Regions from separate parts of the Homo sapiens genome. Here region 1 is linked to region 2. Evidence: promoter capture Hi-C in 16 types of primary human blood cells and fetal thymus (Javierre and others, 2016). All regions are on one chromosome and are shown on one strand. The core of a region is centred on a gene start or on the middle of the fragment in contact, and the rest is flanking DNA. Distances in the headings are between cores, read along the strand shown.

Region 1 (2,820 bases), core at 87-2,586, 590 kb after region 2:
ACAGGCTGGGCGCAGTGACTCACACCTGTAATCGCAGCACTTTGGGAGGCCCAGGCAGGCGGATCACCTGAGGTCAGGAGTTTGAGACCAGCCTGGCCAATATGGTGAAACCCCTTCTCTACTAAAAATACAAAAATTAGCCAGATGTGGTAACGTGCGCCTGTAGTCCCAGCTACTCAGGAGACTGAGGCAGAAGAATCACTTGAACCTGGGAGGTGGAGGTTGCAGTGAGCCGAGATCACGCCACTGCCCTCCAGCCTGGGCAACAGAGCGAGACTCTGTCTAAAAAAAAAAAAAGTTAAAAAGTTAAACACTTACATATCTATCGGGCCAAAGCAGAAATGGAAACTTCCATTGAAGTCCTTTTGGAAAATAATGAAAATGTGAATATCACATACCTTAACTTGTAGAATATTGTCAAAGCTTGGCTTTGATGTTACTTAGCAGACTTAAATGGATTGATAAATTAAGAAATAAACTTTAAACTATAAAACTATAAATGTGTTAGGAAGGGAAAAGCAATAACAGCTAAGCCTATGGTAAACATAATCAAAGGGAAAACACAAACCAGAAGGAAAGAAGATGACATAAAACTAGCGTCTGAAGAAAATTTTAATGTGTTAAGTTCTTTGGACAATGGTGCACTTGCTAAATTTGAAAGTTTCAGTAAGGTGGGAAAATTTAACTTGTCTAAATGGATTCAAAAAGAAGCAGAAAAATTAAGTGGTTATGAACCTTGGAAAAAGATATGTGTCAAATAATTTCCTCAAAAAAGTCCCTTGGCCCAGAGAGTTTTATAGACACGTTCTTTCAAATTGTGAGAGAGCAACTATTTCCTATAATAGAAAAACTATTTTAGGGCACAGAAATCTATAAAAGTTATCCCAGTTCATTTTATGAAATGAACATAACACCCTTAAAGAACTTGACAAAGAGGTTGAGCATGGTGGCTCATGCCTGTAATCCCAGTACTTTGGGAGGCTGAGGTGGGGGGCGGATCACAAGGTCAAGAGATTGAGAACATTCTGGTCAACATGGTGAAACACTGTCTCTACTAACAATACAAAAATTAGCCAGACATGGTGGCACACGCCTGTAATCCCAGCTACTTGGGAGGCTGAGCCAGGAGAATCGCTTGAACCTGGGAGGCAGAGGTTGCAGTGAACCGAGGTTGCGCCATTGCACACTCCAGCCTGGCAACAGAGCAAAACTCTGTCTCAAAAAAAAAAAAAAAAAAAAAAGAACTTGACAAAGATACTGCACTGAACAAAAGCCACAGGCCAAGCTAATATGTGATGTTAGATTCAAATGTCCCAAATAAAACACTGCACTGGCAATATTGTTTATCTCCAAAATGCAAGGATGGTTTAAGATCAGAAGATTTGATAACATCATCTAGTTCATCAAGAGGTGCAATAAGGAAGATCATATCTGTTTCAATAACCTTAATTTAAAATTCCTAACTTAGAGAAAGGGGAGGAAAAAAAGAGGCTTCATAAAACTCATAATAGAATATTTCTTCTACAAGATAAATATTACCTAGGTTAAACCAACAGCCAAGCTAACATCATTCTTAAAATTATTCTTAGCAGAGTTAGGAACAAAACAAGGAAGCCCCATCTCATCATTACTAATTAACATTTCTCTGGGCATCCAGCCAATGTAATAAGACAAGAAACAGAAATCAGAGTTGTAAAGAATGGAATGTGGGAAATAAAGTCATTGCTATTTGCAGAGCGTCTAGCTCAAGGGTAGGCAAACTATGGCCCATGGGCTAGCTGCCTGTTTTTGTAAATGAACTCTTATTGGAATGCAACCCCACCCACTTGTTTACACATCATGTAGGGCTGCTTTAAGCTACAATGACAGAGTAGTTGTGACAGAGGTCATTTGGCTTGCAAAACCCAAAATATTTATTATCTAGCCCTTTACGGGAAAATTTTGTTGACCCCTCTTCTAGTGTGTCATTGAAAACCCAGGAAAGCCAATTATGAAACTTTTTAAATGAGTTAGAGTTTGGGAAAGTAGGTACATAGAAATAAGCAAAAAGACTGTAGATACACAAGCAATAATTAGAATATAAAATAAGGGAAAAGATCCCTTTCAAAATTGCCGTAAAACCTTAGCACAACTCATAATAACCCCATCTAGAATGACTTATAAAGGAACACGTTTTAAAGTGTTACTGATATATTAAATTGTACAAATAAACATGAAAGCCTGTTTCAAATCATTTAAAGAAAGCTTACTGGCAAATGGAAAAGAGTAAGTTGTATAGCACGATACATAAAAGGTTAATATCCTTAATGAATAAACAACACAGGAGTAAGGAAAACACAAGAAATTCATGGAAAAACAGACAAAAGACAAGGAGGGGACAATTCTTTGGAGAATCACAGAGAACCAATAAAGGAAAAATGAAGTCACACTCAGTAATATAAAGATCCGCAAATAACGTAGTCGAGTGATAGCATATTTTTAATCTCTTGGGTTAAAGATCTAGACAAACAAACATAGAAAGAAAAAAAAAAACTATTAAGGCTTAGGGGTTGCTGAGATTGTCCTGGAATGCAGTCTCATGGCCTGCTGGTGCAACCACAAGTCAATATAGAGTTTCTGGACAACCATTTAGCTGTAGGTATTAAGAAGCTTAAAGAGTTTCTTATCTCCCTGAACCTAGTAATATTTTCCTCTAGGAATCTACTTTGGGGAAGTAATAAGACAATCAGACAATGATCAAAGGAATATTTATAACAGCAAAAAAAAAAAAAAAGAGCCATGTGCGGTGGCTCATGCCTGTAATCCTGGCACTTTGGGAGG
Region 2 (2,700 bases), core at 201-2,700:
TAGCCACTGCCCACTGCCTAGTGCCCATCCCAGTCCTGCCAAGTACTTATCCTACTGGATTTTTTCTTCCCTTAATGTTTTTTCATAGCATTTATGACTTTTGAATAGAGTATACTACGGTTCCCACCTTTTGCACTATGGACATTAGGAGTCAGATCATTCTTTGCTATGGGGGATGTCTTAGGCATTGTAGGGCTTTGCGCAGCATCCCTGGCCTCTACCCACTAGATGCCTGGAGCACACACACACACACACACACACACACACACACATTCTGTGACAACCAAAAGTGTCTCCAGACATAGCCAAATGTCCCCTGGTGGGCGTAATTGCCCCCAGCTGGGAACTACTATGCTATACAACTTATGTTTTCAATTATGTTTATTACGTTGAGTATGGAGTCTGTCTCCCCACACTTCTAGAATATTAGCTCCAAGAAGAGAGGAATTTGCTTATTTTACTCTCTGATGTGGCCCCAGTTCCAAGATCAATGCCTGGCATATGGCAGGTGCTCAATGTTTGTTGAAAGAATGCATGAACACTGAGTGTTTTTGATATGCCTGAAATGGTGCTAGGTAGACATGTATAACCTCATTGTCTTTATTTTTTTATTTTTTCAATTTTTGTTTTCATATATATATATATATATATATTTTTTTTTTTTTTTCAGAAATGAGGGTCTTGTTATATTGCCCAGGCTGGTCTGGTCTGGAACTCCTGGGCTCAGTGATCCTTCCATGTCGGCCTCCCAAAGTGCTGGGATTACAGGTGTGAGCCAGCAAGACTGTCTTGTTTCTTTATCATAGCATCTTTGTGAGAGAGGCCCATCGCTATCTCCTTTACAGTGGGGAAAACTAAGGCTTCTAGAAGCTACCTAGAACCCATACAGTGGTAGAGTCCTGCAGCTCCGCCGGCTACCTCCCTAACAAAACTGTTTGTTCCCTTCTGGTACAGAGGGACTGGATCAAGGTCAGGTTCAAACCCAGCCTCTGCAGGCACCTGCAGGGGAGTTGAGAAGGGACCTGAACTGGCCTGGGGGGCTATGCCTGAGGGGGCTTTCTCAGGAGCCAGCAGGGGTTACAATTTGGTCGGGTTCAGTGTGTCCCTCGCGGGATAAAACCCAGCCCCAGGCCCATAAGAGATGGTGACTAAGCTCCAAAGAGAAGCCTCCAGCCCCAGGCCCATAAGAGATGGTGACTAAGCTCCAAAGAGAAGCCTCCAGCACCAGCCTGGGGATGGAGCTGCAGTGGCCAGAACCAGGAGGCTGGAACCGCCCGGCCTCACTCCAGCCCAGCCCAGCCCAGCCTTGAAAGGGCCCAATCCTGTGATTGGTCCATGGGTTCCCGTTGCCAGGAATTAAGGCCAAGAAAATGGGAAGGAAGGAAGGGAGTGCGTAGGTCCAGTGAGAACAGGCGTGAAATTTATATCTCTGCCCAGGACTGGGTGCCTGCATCGCCATGGACACCACCAGGTACAGCAAGTGGGGCGGCAGCTCCGAGGAGGTCCCCGGAGGTATGAGCAAGGAGACTGCCCCATCCCTGCCCCAGTGTCTGGGGTTTGATGGGGGAGGGGAGGGAAGAGTCGAGACAGGCCAGGGTTGTGGGTGCAGGAGAGACACCACAGGCCATAGAGCCAGTTGGACCAGGGTCCAATTCCAACTCTGCCGCTTAGAAGCTGTGTGACCATAGGCAAGTTACTTAACTTCTCTGAATCTCAGTTTCCTGGGAGTAACTCAGGCCTCCAGGGCTCAGTTCTGGGGGACCCAGCATGCCGTCCTTGTTATGCCAGGGCCCTGGGGACGCTGGGTGCACTGGAGCAGGAGACCCCTCTTCTTGGCCCTGGCTGTCCTGGTCACCACAGTCCTTTGGGCTGTGATTCTGAGTATCCTATTGTCCAAGGGTGAGTGACTCTCAATGGGGAGGTGTTGCATCCGGCCCCCCTGGGGACAGAAAACCCCCACTGCATGGCGCACCAGCTGCATCCTGGGGTCCTGTTCGCGTCTGAGTGTGAGCAGAGTGTGTGTACATCTTTGGGCCGTGTGCACTCACGCGTGTGCACATGGCGTGCTCGTATGTGCGCGAGTCCCCGCGCGTTTGTCTCCCATCGGCGTGTGTGCACATCGTGTGAGCTGTATGCCTGCCCGCCCGCTCCGTGCTCCCGAGTTGGGGGACGCTGCACCCCCCGGGCGAGGGGAGGATTCCCGAGTTCCCGGCCTCGCCTGCAGGAGCCTCTCTCCTCAGCCTCCACGGAGCGCGCGGCGCTGCTTGACGGCCACGACCTGCTGAGGACAAACGGTGTGTGCAGAGCCGGGCGCCTGGGCCCCCGGGGCGTGAGGGGCGGGAGTTTCTGAGACCCCGGAGATGGAGTCTCGAGTGCGTGGGGGCCCTATGGTCCCTGAGGCTGGAAGGGGGTCCCCTGAGTCCTCCCAAGTGACCCGAGGGGCATGCATTTTGGGGCGGGGGTCGTTCCAGCCTCGAAGCAGACGGCGGCGCTGGGTGCCCTGAAGGAGGAGGTCGGAGACTGCCACAGCTGCTGTGAGGGGGCGCGGTCGAGGCTGTGGGCGCAGGGATGGGGTCTTGCGGCCGCGATGGGAGGGGGGCCGGGGCGGAGGCCTGCGGCGGGTGGTGCGGGGCGGGGGCTGGTCTCCGAAGTCCCGCCCCATCCTCGCCGCCCTCGCCCCTCTCACCCTGCGGCTCCCAG

The links. Contacts are between HindIII fragments. The CHiCAGO score rates a contact against its expected background, and 5 or more counts as called.
Region 1: a contact is called between a fragment that was not itself captured here and the fragment with the promoter of CLEC4G in region 2, in 1 of 17 cell types (erythroblasts). The highest score is 6.5, in erythroblasts.

What each region holds. Positions count from the first base shown.
Region 1 is chr19:7,144,658-7,147,477 of GRCh38, reverse strand. The region is part of intron 11 of INSR (insulin receptor); the gene reads left to right. Among named protein-coding and RNA genes, the nearest start is that of ZNF557, 76 kb to the right of the region's middle. The HindIII fragment of the contact is 1,821 bases long and covers 426-2,246 here.
Region 2 is chr19:7,730,860-7,733,559 of GRCh38, reverse strand. It overlaps CLEC4G (C-type lectin domain family 4 member G), which reads left to right and starts at 1,450. Exons shown (of 9, transcript NM_198492.4): 1 at 1,450-1,512; 2 at 1,789-1,899; 3 at 2,241-2,294; 4 at 2,472-2,534. The coding sequence starts at 1,458. RefSeq lists a cis regulatory region at 1,376-1,385 and promoters at 1,192-1,455, 1,143-1,455, 849-1,455. The HindIII fragment of the contact is 11,720 bases long and covers 1-2,700 here.